Regions from separate parts of the Homo sapiens genome. Here regions 2, 3 and 4 are each linked to region 1. The links are contacts of gene promoters, found by promoter capture Hi-C in blood cells and fetal thymus (Javierre and others, 2016). All regions are on one chromosome and are shown on one strand. Each heading gives the region's core, a stretch centred on a gene start or on the middle of the fragment in contact. The rest is flanking DNA. Distances are from core to core; before and after follow the strand shown.

Region 1 (3,435 bases), core at 614-3,113:
GACGCGGGGACGGGCGCAGACGGGGCCTCTCCGGGAGCTGGGGGATCGGGGCGCGGAGCCTTCCGCCCGCACCGCCCGCGCTCACGTGCGCCTGGGCCAGCACCTTCCCGCCGCGGTCCTGCGACTGCCCCGATCATGGTGCAGGCCTTTAATTCTCGCCCACTCCGCCTCTCTGATTGCACTCAGAACACCTTTCCCAAACAGATCGCGGACTTGGAAGACGTCCAGCTCTTGCCCAGAAAGCACCAATCGAATGGGAAAGTGCGCAACTGATTGATAATACATTTTACAAGAATAAAATAAAAGAGGCAAATTGCTGAACTTTCACAGATGTGCCGGGCTTCGGCCAAAGAGCCAAACTTTCTTAAAGACGAGTCCGGGAGGCAAGTGCCCTCCTGCGGGCGTTCCCTGCCGGGGCGCGAGGGACCCGCGGGCCGAGGGTCCAGCGCAGAGGAGCGCGCAGATGGCGCGGTCCTTGCCGGGGAGGGACCTTCGCTCGTCCTCTCGCAGGGGGTCTGGGGAGGGGGTGCAGGTCCTGCCCCTCCTCGGGTGGTCAGCTGTGCGCACCTCGGGGGCCGTGGAGAGTCCTCACCCGCCCATCTCCTGCCTCCTGGCCGCCCCGCCTCGGGGACCAGGGCTTGGGGACCCGAACCTGGGGACTGGGCTCGGGCGGGGCAGACCCCTCGAGGTCCGGAGAGCGGATCCCTCCAAAACGGATGGACTCTAATTGACTTATTAAATGTCGAAGCAATCAGGCAGCTCCCTTTTTAATAGCCCAAGATCTACATTTAGACAAAAACAGAACCGAGTTCCTGGTAAAGGCGTTTCTTCTCATCCTGTCACAAGTGACAGGAACGGAGGGAAACAGACTGGGGGAGGGGCGGGGGGAGGAGAACAGGGGGAAGAGGAGGAGACGGGGAGTGGGGGAAGGTGGGGCAGGAGAGGAGGAGACGGGAGATGGGGAAGGTGGGGAGGGAAGGGGCGCGGGAGACGGGGCGCGGGCGAGGGGGAGACGCGGTGGAGATGCGGGTGGGGGGACCGGGCGGGGGCGGGGGCGGAGTTGAGGGGGAGCGGGAGACGGGGGGAGGCGAGAGCGAGGTGAGGCGGGGGGACTGACGAAGATCCGCATGGGGGTACTAACACTTCAGCGGCTTCTAATTAAAGCCCCGCTCGGAGCCCTTGGGGACCCGCCTGACGTCGGCGGGCGCGGGGATAAGAAGCTCCCCGAGGTCTGAGGCGGGACTCGGAGCCGGCGCACCCCAGGTCGGCCGTGGGTCCAGCGCTCGGAGCGGCCGAGTCCCCGCGTCCCGTGCGCTCCGCCCGCCGGGCATGGAGTAGTGGCGCAGCTCGGGGCGCGGGGACAGACGTGCGCACAGACGGCGACGACTCCGGCGGCTCCAGGTAACCGGCCCGGCCACGACGCGCAGGTGGCTCCCGGGTGGCGCCGGGCAGGTGCGGGAGGGCGCCATGGCCGGGAGGTGGAGGGGCTTCCAGCACGTGGCGCGGCCGGGGCCAGCGCGAGGGTCCGCACCCGGCCTCCTCCGTGGGCTTCGGGGACTCGGCGCTCGCCGGCGACCACCGCGCAAAGGCGACGCTGGAAACTTGAGCGCGGCCGCCGGGCCCGGCGCGCGGCGCCGCCTTCTTGGAGAGCGGTAGGCGCGGGAGCGCGGCCCCTCCGAGGTCCGCCCGCGGCCGGGGAGCTGCCTGGCACCCGCGGCTTCCAAAGGGGAAAGAAAGTTGCGCCCGCGCCAGGCGCAGCGCGCTCGGCGGACGCGGCCTTTCGGGCGAAAGTTAGGAGGGGCCGGGCTGGCGGGCGGGCGGGTTCCGGGGGCTCCTTTCCGCACCAGCGGCGGTCGCTCCCCGTGGGCGGGACCTCGGGCGTGATCGTCGAGGAGACCGCGGCTCCCTCACCTGCCGGCTTGTTCCTCGGGGTCCGCGGAGGTGAGGGGCCGGGTCCAGCGCCAGCGGCTCCTCCCGCCTCCCCTCCCCTCCCCCGCCCCGCGCTCCGTCCCCCTCCCCCGCTGACTTTCTCTCCGGCCCCCCGCGCCCCTTCTCTCGCAGCGAGCCCAGCTCTCGGCGCGTGTCGGAGTCTCCCAGCCCCGCGGCCCCGAGCGCACGATGCGCGGACCCGGGCACCCCCTCCTCCTGGGGCTGCTGCTGGTGCTGGGGGCGGCGGGGCGCGGCCGGGGGGGCGCGGAGCCCCGGGAGCCGGCGGACGGACAGGCGCTGCTGCGGCTGGTGGTGGAACTCGTCCAGGAGCTGCGGAAGCACCACTCGGCGGAGCACAAGGGCCTGCAGCTCCTCGGGCGGGACTGCGCCCTGGGCCGCGCGGAGGCGGCGGGGCTGGGGCCTTCGCCGGAGCAGCGAGTGGGTGAGTGGGGCCGAGCGCGCCCGAGGGCCGGGGCTGCTGGGAAATAGAATTGTCTTTGAGAAACACGTTTCAAAAAGAGACATCAATTTTGACCACTGAACAGCAGGATTCCTTTTTTTTTTTTTTTTTTTTTTAAGAAAAAGAAAATAGCAGCAATAGGTCCGCGCATGAGGCCTGGCGGAGAAGCGCCTGGTCTCCTTCTGGCGCGCGTGAGCTGCGGCGCGGGTCGGTGGTTTCCACACTAAACTGTCAACCGTCACTTTGGAAATGGAAGCATTTCCAGCAAAGCTTTCCCAACTGAAAAGGAAGCATCCAGGCTCCTTCATGGCCCTGCCCAGAGTGGTGGCCCACGGGGAATTTCCCAGGAAAGCATGAAAGCGTCTAATGCTTTTGTGACACAATCAGGTCAAACATGATAAGGTCAGTTTTATCCCGGCTGCGTCAAGTTAGGAGTGAATGAAGACTCACTAGGGGGTCAGCTGTGGATGCGAATGCTCCTCTTCAGAGGGCGTGACTTCACACACAGTCGGGGCTCAGCCAGGAGCCCTGAACGGGGGAGTGAAGATGGAGAGGGCTGTAAATACGCAAAAACAAAGCTGAACTCAAGAAGAACGCCCTTGCAGGGTTCTCCCCACCCACTGTGTGCGGAGAACCCTGGTGGAAGAAGTTTGCTTGGCAGAGTCTTTCCCTGGGATTCTTACCCTACAAACCAGGTTCATGCATATTCCCACTAATTTACACCTCACTGAAACGTGGTCTTTTAATCCTTACTCTAAATATGTATCTAGATAAAGTAATGTTCTGTAACCCATTTTTTTGTTTGAAGGGTCAGGTTTTCTCTAAAAACTTTGAAATGTTGTGGGATTTGATTCCCAAGGTCCTTAAAACTAAAGTGCCTAAAAGTGACTTATTCACTGGAAGTTAAATGTTTAAAAGAAAAAAAAAACAGTTTTCTTACCTCTGTAACTTCGTGGTCTCTGTCTGCATCCCACGGGGTAGACAGCCGACATAATCCTGGAGCTTCAGGAGCAGTTACTGTTATTTCAAGGAAAATAAATGTCCCT
Region 2 (3,072 bases), core at 182-2,681, 170 kb before region 1:
TCTCATAATTCTCACGTGTTGTGGGAGGGACCTGGTGGGAGGTATTTGAATCATGGGGGTGGCTACCTCCATGCTGTTTCCATGATAGTGAGTGAGTTCTCACCAGATCTGATGGTTTTATAAGGGGCTTTTCCCCCTTAGCTCTGCCACTATGTGAAGAAGGACATGTTTGCTTCCCCTTCTGCCATGATGTTACATTTCCTGAGGCCTCCCAGCCCTGTGGAACTATAAGCCAATTAAATCTCTTTGCTTTATAAATTTCTCAGTCTTGGGTATGTCTTTATTAGCTGCATGAGAACGGATTAATCCAAGCATTTATAAAGGACATTAAATATTTGTATAAAGTGTTATTTCCTGAGTCTTTTAACAATGCTGCTCAAACTCCCTGTTTAGGATGGCATGTTCAGCAGCTGTGCTGAGCCCACGTCTCCCAGGTAGGATGCTGGCCTCTCTGTCCAACCTTCTGGTGACTTCTGGGTGGGATAGTGGCCTTTCTGTCCACCCTCCTACTCCACACTCCCTCCCTCCTAATACATTCAATTCCATGTTCCCCAACTCTTGGGAAATCCATGCCCACAGCAATGAGGTAGGACTAATGGGTCTTTCTGTTCAGTGAGGTAACACGGAGCCCAGGCTCAAGGTTTCTGCAATTATTGTGCTATTGTGCTCTGTTCACCAGCACACCCCTTTCCAGGGTGTAATTATTAAGCAAATTCCGCAGCCTGAAAAGAATGATTATTCTCATTGAAGCATGTTTTTACAAGGCTTACAACAGAATTGCTCCAGGATACATGCAAGATATGTTTGTTTGTCACTTGAATTTCTTTTGCCAACATTTCAGGCTCTACCTAGAAATATAAGCAATTTGATGCTTTAGAAATCCTGTGGGTAATTTAAACTTATATTCACATGGTATATTAAACATAGATTAAGCTTTGTTTTAAACTTGTAATTGTACTGTGTTTTCTAATCTCAGAAATTAAAAGATCAAATGATCAAATTAGTGGTTTTGAAGTGAGTTATTGACAGAGAGCATCCCCACAACTAGGATAGAAGGGCTGTCATGTCACAGCTCATTCGGAAAAGGCAGCCATGGAGAAGGAGAGTAAAGAGGAGTGGCAGAAATCCTGAGCTTGTAACTCACTTTCTGGAAACTGTCTCCAAGATAAATTCCGTTAAACACTTTCTTTAAAGGCAGTATTTCACAGCCCACCACTGCTCTATGGTTTTGCTTCTCTTTTTCAGTCCTAACCCTGGATCCCTCTTATCTGCCACAGACGTGACTGCAAGAAACCTGCGTCCACAGACACGGCTCTCCCAAGTGAGTGGACATCCCAGCGGGGAAGCACCACACATGTGATGGACAGCTCAACTTCCTCCTGGGTTTTAGGTGTCCTCCGCATGTGGAGGTGTTGAGTGCAGGTTCCTGGCACCACGCGCATGGCTGACCCAATGTCGCCCAAACCACAAAAGTCACACAAGCAGGTTCTGCAGGGCGATGGGTTCCCTCTCATAGCAGCCGTGCACACGGGCCTTTCATGAGAAACTCTTACAGGAAATGCTGGCCCACCCCTGACTGAACCATGAAATCACAAAGTTACAGGATGAAACAGAAGAATCAACACACTGCCATGCAGAGTCCAGAGACCCCGCAGTCTAGAAAACAGGGCGGAGCAAAGGGAAAGCCAGCAGCTGCCAGCAGCTTCTGAGGACGGCAGAAAGTGCTGCGTGAAAGGCCTCTGCACACCCCACGGAGTGGCCTGGGCATCCTTAGACGCCGGATCCTTTGCAAGTCAAAGAAAGCGTTCAGTCCTGAATAAGATTTTGGTTTTGATGGCACTTATTGATCATGTTGTACTTTTTGCCATTTGGGACTTGGTATCTCTGGGGATCTCCGTCATACTTTAATCCAATGCTAGACAAAGCTTTATGCAGAATCTTTTCATTACAAATACAGTTCTGCCGGACTAGAAAGCTGCACTGTTCTGGGTACCTGCCACCTGTTCAGCATTGCTCTGGGCGTTGAGGACACAGCGTGACCACACCAGCCCTTGCCTGGCCTCCCGCAGGCCTGACAACACAGACATGGGTTTGGTTAGGGGGAAATCAGGGTCTTCTATCGGTTACATTTCTGTGCAGAAAAAAACTATTTTTAGCTAAACATCTACTCTACTACAATAATTTAAAAATAATTATCGACTTAAATCGTTATTGAGTGTGATATTGTTTCTAAATTTATTTGGTCATATTATACTGATTAAACAAGATTTTTCACATTTGTGTGTGCAGTTATGGCTCGTTATATTTTATGAGAATGTTGTTTGCTAAGCCTCTCGAGAATAATTGGACCAGGCACGGTGGTTCACACCTGTAATCCCAGCACTTTGGGAGGCCAAGGTGAGAGGACTGCTTGAGGCCAGGAGTTCAAGGCCAGTCTGAGCAACATAAGGAGATCCTGCCTCTACGAACTGCGCTGGGCATGGTGGCATGTGTCTATGGTCCCAGCTACTTGGAAGGCTGAGGCAGGGGGATCATTTGAGCCTGGGAGGCCAAGGCTGCAGTGAGCTGTGATAGGTTCATTGTACTCCAGGCTGGGCAACAGAGCCAGACCCTACCTCGAAAAAAAAAGAATAGAATAAAAAAGAAAAGAAGAGAAGAGGGGATGGGAGTTTTTACCACATTTTAAAAGTCCCTTACCTCCTAAGTAGGATTATTTAGAATGACATAACAGAAAATTCTGATCTCTGGGATATCTTTCTCTTAGTTCCAGCATAAGTATAAATTAGGGCAAGTTCTGAGCATTTTCATAATTTTTTAAAAACCTCCTTAATTTCCTTATTTATCAAGCAGGATAATTGAACATACATCAAAGTATTTCATGTGAAATTAAGACATACATCAAATACTTAGAAGTATGTAGACATTCCCTGGCTTCCCTGAGCATTTGCATAATTTTCTCCTCCTGTGATCTGCAAGCACTTTGAGTCCTACGACCCCCATCACTGAGAATAGCGGTTGGCTCATAAGAGGTCCTTAGTAAATGAACGATTGGATGATTCCTGTTCATTAGAT
Region 3 (3,267 bases), core at 750-3,249, 240 kb after region 1:
TCTGTAATGGTTGTCATGTTTGATCACCTTTTCTCCTTCTTGGATGCCACCTCAGCTGAATTCTCCTGAGCCTTCCCCTAGCATGGGGCTGCTGTAGTGTAGACAGATAGTTGTCTCTAAGCCATTTTTTATGATCGTTTACCTTTCCCCTACTGACTTAAATGCTCCCTATATTATATATAATTTGAGGCTATTTTTTAACTGACTTTTTGTCTATCTCTGCAACACTATCATACTTTGTTACTATAATTTTATAACAAATCTTAGATAGCTGTTTTGCAAAAAAAGTTTCCTTCTTGTTTTCATTTTTTTTTCAAAATTTTCTTAACTATTTTTGGACATTTATTACTTTTAAAAAATTTTAATAATATATTTAATTTAAATCAGTATATATGAAATACCATTTCTTCAATATAAAATGTAACACACAACATCTTAACTCAGACTCTCCACATTTCAAAGGCTTAATAGCAACATGTGGTCAACGGTTACCATATTACACAATGCATTGCACCTTTACTCTTGCAAATAATTTTTTGAAATTTTTGTCAAGTTCTATGAAGAAAAAAGTTGGAATTTTGTTTCTTGAACTCCTGGTCTCAAGCGATCCTCCTGCCTCAGTCTCCCAAAGTGCTCAGATTAAGATATGAGCCATTGCACCCAGCCTAGGGTTTTGTCTCTAATTGCATTGAGTTCCTCTTTAAAAAAAATTTAAGACGATTCACATCATTACAATGTTGATTCTGACTATCCTTGAATGTGGCACATCTATTTATTTATCTCTTCATTTATATCTGTCAAAATATTTTATAATATTCTATAAGCATGTCTTGTGTCTTTTTGAGATGTATTACCAGATTCCATATGGATTTTCTTAGTATTATGTCTTGATTATTTTTCCTGGTACATTTTTAAATTGATTATTGCTAGTGTTTATGAATATTCTTTATCTTTGCATGTGTTCTTTGTCCAACAATCTTGTTGAAATGTCTTGTTAGTTCTAATACTATGTCCAGTCTCTTGGAGGTTTGAAATAGTCAATTACATTGCCTGTTATAAGGGGAATTTTGCCTCTTTGTTTCCCCCAGTCTTTATACTCTGTAGTTATTTTTTTCTCTATTTACTGGCTAGAAAGCCCAGTACATTTGACTAACATGGACAATAATGTGTATCCTTATGTTGTTACTATCTTTATAGAATGCTTTAAAAATCCACCACTAAGTATGGTGCTGAAGGTAAGGATAGAGCCCCTTTAACAATTTTAGGAATTTCTCTCCTGTTCCTAGTTTTCTATCAGTTGACAAATTTGAAAGTATGGAGTCGAACACTTGGCACCTAATATGGACTCAGTAATGTTTCTTTAATGAATAAATGAGAAAAAACTCAATGTGTGCTTGCCTGTCATTTTTCCCTGTACTTACACAGTTTTAATATTTATTCTTATAATATATACCAATAATTCTTAAACATTTTATTCTCAACACCTCTTTAACACTCTTAAAAGTTATTGAAGGTCTTAATAAGCTTTGGTTTAATGGCTTATATCTATTAATATCTACTATATTAAAATATAAGTTGATCAATACTTTTTAATTTTTTTTTTACTTTTTTTAAGAGATGCGGGTCTTGCTATATTGCTCAGGCTGGTCTCAAACTTCTGGCCTCAAATAATTCACCTGCCTTAGCCTCTGTATTCATCTATTCTCACATTGCTATAAAGAAATACCTGAGACTAGGTAATTTCTAAAGAAAAGAAGTTTGATTGGCTCAAGTTCTGCAGACTATGCATGAAGCATGGCAGCATTTGCTTCTGGGGAGGGCTCAGGGAGCTTTTACTGATGGCAGAGGACAAAGTGGGAGCAGGTATCTTACATGGCAGTAGCAGGACCGAGAAAGAGAGTGGGGGAAGTGCCCCACACTTTTAAGCAACCAGATCTCGTGAGAACTTCCTCACTATACAGTACCAAGTGGGGACGGCGCTAAACCATTCATGAGAACTCCGCCCTCATGATCCAGTCACTTCCCACCAGGCCCCACCTCCAACACTGGGGATTACAATTTTACATGAGATTTGATGGGGACACAGATCCAAACCATATCGGCCTCCCAAAGTGCTAGGACCACAGGCATGAGCTGCCAAATCTGGCCTGATAAATGTTTTGAATGCACACATTATTAGCTCTAAATATTCTGGCATTTCAGCAGTCACTAGGTTCTTGATAACTCCACTATATACTCATAAGAAATGGAGAAAGAAAAGACAATTCAATTCTTAGTCTTGTAACCATGGTAACAACTTAAGCCAATTTACCATTGCATAAGTTGTTATAGGTAGCACAGAGCCAAAACTGCAAGTCATGTATCCCGGGCATGTGCAATGAAAAAGATTTAACCTAACTCTTTACACCACTAGCCCGGCAGGCCAGCTGCATTGGCATCACCTGGGACTACTTAGAAATGCCATAAAAGCTTTACCCACCCCAAGATCAGGGAGACAGATCTGAGTGTTGCCTTCTGTCTCCTTGCCAGTCAACTCACAGTAAAGCTTTATCTTTTCTCAAAAGCCAGAGCCATAGTATTTATATCAGTCTGTTTTTGCATCACTATAAAGAAACACCCGAGGCTGAGTAATTATAAAGAAAAGAGGTCTAATTGGCTCATGGTTCTGCATTCCATACAAGCATGGCACCAACATCTTCTCTGCTTGTGGTGAGGGCAAGAAGTTTACAATCATGGTGGAAGGTGAAACAGGAGCAGGCTTGTCACATGGTGAAGGCAGGAGCAAGAGAGAGAGGGGAGGGATGTCCCAGATTTTTAAACAACCAGATCTCCATGAACTGACTGAGCAAGAACTCATTCATCACCAAGAGGACAGGGCTAACCATTCATAAGGGATCTACCCCTACTGTCAAATCCCTCCCACCAGGCCCCACCTCCAAAGTTGGCAAGCACATTTCAACATGAGATTTGGAATTGACAAACATCCAAACTATGTTAGCACTAGTTCTATGGACTTTGGGCATGAAGCCTGTTGCTTGGTATCAATGAAAGTAATTTTGACCTCATAGACCTCCCAAAAAGATATCAGGAGCCCCCACATTCCCTGGACTGTATGCTGAGGACTGCTTCTATATTCATGCTATTTTTAAAATTTCATACACATCACAATCACTTCCCACTCTGAAAAACACTCTGGAAGCATGACTGTAAATGGATGCATAATACTCCACCCACAGGTAAGTCATACATCCTCCAGCCTTCCTCCTG
Region 4 (3,017 bases), core at 33-2,532, 180 kb before region 1:
TCTTTTCTTACCTTCCTTTTAGATAGTTGAGTCCCTTTGTGGGATTCTATTTTTAATTATTTATAGATTTTTGAGTATACAACTTGGTATAATTTTCTTTGTTGTTGCTGTAGGTATTACAATATACATACACAACTTATCACAGTTTAGAACACATGTTTAGGATGTTGAGTGAAGTATAGAAATCTTATTTCCACCTAAATCCCATTACTCTCCCCAAGTTTAAAATATAATTGTCCTAAACATTTCTTCCACATACATTAAACACCACCTTAGATAGTATAACATCTTACTTTAATTGTTAAAAGTGATTAAGAAACCCTTGAGAAACAGAGCAGTCTATTACATTTACTGGATTTAGAATTCTGGACAGACAGGTTTTTTTTCTCTTTTTATCTTTTTTAAATTTTTTTATTTTTTGAGACAGGGTCTCACTTTGTCACCCAGGCTGGAGTATTTTTCTTTTCAGCACTTGGAAACTGTCTCCCCAGAATTCTATATTCTGTGAAAAAAAAATTTCAAGGGAAAATAAAAATATTTCAAGTAAAAGAAAATCTAAGTTAACGTATCAATAGCAAGCCTGAGCCTGCCCTTAAAAATTGCTACAGGACATTCTCCATACAGAAAGGATATGATAACTGGAAAAGGGAACTTCAGAAAGGAAAGAAAAAAACATTGGAATGGATAAAAATAGGGGTAAATATATAGACTATTATGCTTCTGAAGAGCCTCTTAAATTATATTTGATAGTTAAAGAAAAAAATTATCACAGCATGTCATGTGATGCTCAATGTATAGTTTTTAGATTTTCCTGAAGCTTTCTATTTGTTAATTTGTTTCAAGGTAATTCATAAATGTTTGTTGAAGCATATTTATATTGCTGCTTGAGAGCCCTTGCTAGATAACTCCAGCATCCAGCCATCTCACTATTAGTATTTGTTGTCTTTCCTCATTTATGTTATAATTTTGCTGCTTTTAATGTGGTAAGTGATTTTACTGCATCCTGGACAATAAGTGGGAGACTATCTATTATACGTAGGAGATTATCAATTTACTATATGAGTAGAGTCTGCACCTTCTTATCTGCTTTGCTGGCAGGCAGTTTTCCTGCTGAGGCATAGCTTGGCCAGGTGGGGATCTATGTCCAGCTTCCCACTGGGACCCTGTGACGTCATCACAAAAGGCCACTGACCACATCCCCTTGGTGCCTCCAAGTGGGGCGTGAAATCATTTTCCTTCCGGGCTTCGCTGACACCAAAGAGAAGAGGGAGGTCAGCAGAGAGCCAGCTACCACCTCTTACCACCACCTTCTGCCTTGTAGACACCAGGTGGGGTGGGAGCTCGGCTCCGTGCTCGGACCCACTACCTCACACTGCCTGTTAGATCCCACTGTTGCTGGGAGAGGATGGACCCCACTGACACTACTCTGGGGGAGGAACCAAAGCACTGCTGCCTCCATGTGAAGGGGATGGGAGACCAGGCCGTCCTCGCTTCTGCAGTACAGACCCCGGGAGGCATCAGAGCTTTCTGCTTCTGCTCAAGGTGGGATGCAGACTCGGGCCCCACTCTGCCCAACTCCACCCCACCAGAGGCAAAGAGAGAAGTGGAAGATCAGCTTTCTCTTCTACCCTCTAAAACCAATGTTTTATGTTTTCTGAAGTAGAACAATACTGCCTTTTGTTTTCTATGGTTAGGCAACCTTGGCCCAAGCCTTTGACAAAGGAAGGAGGCTTTCCTTGAAGCTTTTGTGCCTGTGGGCACTAGTAGTTTGGTTAGAGTTTCTGCAGCTCCTGTCTGGAATCTATGATAACAAATAGGCAGTCAGGGAACTCACCTGTTTTGGATAGAACGAGTTGCAAGGATGTCAGAGACTCACCTGTCCTGGGTGAATGGGAGTTTCAGGGGACCAGGGACTCACCTGTCCTGGGGGGATTGGGACCTGCAAGGGGGCCAGAGACTCACCTGTTCTAAGTGGATTGGGAGCTGCAGGAGAGCAGGGACTCACTTGTTCTGGGTGGATGGGAGCTCCAGGGTCAGGGGGCAACTCTGTTTTTCCTCAGCTTCTGAGGTCCCGAGGCTGCCTGTTTTCTTCTCCCCTTTGGGAGAAGTGCTTGTGGTTATGTCTAAGGTGTTTCAGTTTAAGGGGCACCCCGGCGAGGAATGCGGCAGCTCCATCTCAGAGAAGTGGACATCCTGGTGCGCCTTTCTTCAGTGCTGATAGTTTTAAATGTAACTTTATATTTATAATTTTCCATTGTCCTCTTGCAGATAGGCAGTCAGAATGCAAGGGCTTGTCTTTGTGATTGTGGAGCTTGAGAAAGATGTGGCATTGCCTGCTTCTGGCACTTCCCAGGCATTCATTTATTTTTAGCTTTGATCCTTTCCTGATATCTGTTTGGGATCAGAGACTGAAAGAGGAAGTGTGTATGCTCAATAAATTGTATTGTTCCACAAACTTTTATTTGAAGACAGCTATAAATTTGATCTATAAAAGAGATTATAATAAGCCCACATTCCAGCTCTTTTGAACATATAGGAAACACTCATGTTCATAAAACAACTAATATAATAAACAAAAATATATCCTAACTGCCCAGTTTTTGTGTTCCCGAAGGATTTTCCCATGCTACAGGTAAATAATAAAGTAACACTGTCATTCTTAAAATGCATACCTGCACCCCAGCAAACTCTAATGCTGAGTCATTTAGTAACGGAAATAGTTTATTAAGATGTGCAGTGTAATTTTATGTGTCTTTCCTACCAAGGCCATTTTTTAAAGGAAAGCACAAGGAGAAAAATTAACTCATCAGATTGTCAAATCACACCGCTGGATTTGAAAAAGTCAAACACGGTGAGGTGTGCAGGTATATTTTTACAATCCGGACAAAGCCAAATGAGTGTACACCTCATTTTCGTGAGCCGTTTTGGAAACCTGGGAAGACATTGGTAGACATCATTATACAATTGGGCACATTGATAGCAGATTGAACAAGACAGAGAATTTATCATGATCATGT

Evidence for each region. The method cuts DNA at HindIII sites, captures the fragments that hold promoters and counts their contacts. A CHiCAGO score of 5 or more calls a contact.
Region 2: a contact is called between a fragment that was not itself captured here and the fragment with the promoter of ALKAL2 in region 1, in 1 of 17 cell types (total B cells). The highest score is 5.5, in total B cells.
Region 3: a fragment that was not itself captured here is called in contact with the fragment with the promoter of ALKAL2 in region 1 in 1 of 17 cell types (total CD8 T cells); the score reaches 5.2 in total CD8 T cells.
Region 4: a fragment that was not itself captured here is called in contact with the fragment with the promoter of ALKAL2 in region 1 in 1 of 17 cell types (total B cells); the score reaches 5.1 in total B cells.

Annotation. Positions count from the first base shown.
Region 1 is chr2:286,519-289,953 of GRCh38, reverse strand. It overlaps ALKAL2 (ALK and LTK ligand 2), which reads left to right and starts at 1,863. Exons shown (of 6, transcript NM_001002919.3): 1 at 1,863-1,941; 2 at 2,062-2,371. The coding sequence starts at 2,119. It overlaps LOC101927262 (a long non-coding RNA gene), which reads right to left. Exons shown (of 3, transcript XR_007085917.1): 1 at 3,330-3,435. RefSeq lists a silencer at 2,299-2,348. The HindIII fragment of the contact is 4,532 bases long and covers 1-2,661 here.
Region 2 is chr2:453,691-456,762 of GRCh38, reverse strand. No RefSeq gene overlaps it. Among named protein-coding and RNA genes, the nearest start is that of LINC01874, 37 kb to the left of the region's middle. The HindIII fragment of the contact is 992 bases long and covers 936-1,927 here.
Region 3 is chr2:50,868-54,134 of GRCh38, reverse strand. No RefSeq gene overlaps it. Among named protein-coding and RNA genes, the nearest start is that of FAM110C, 6.0 kb to the right of the region's middle. The HindIII fragment of the contact is 945 bases long and covers 1,527-2,471 here.
Region 4 is chr2:469,923-472,939 of GRCh38, reverse strand. No RefSeq gene overlaps it. Among named protein-coding and RNA genes, the nearest start is that of LINC01874, 21 kb to the left of the region's middle. The HindIII fragment of the contact is 925 bases long and covers 820-1,744 here.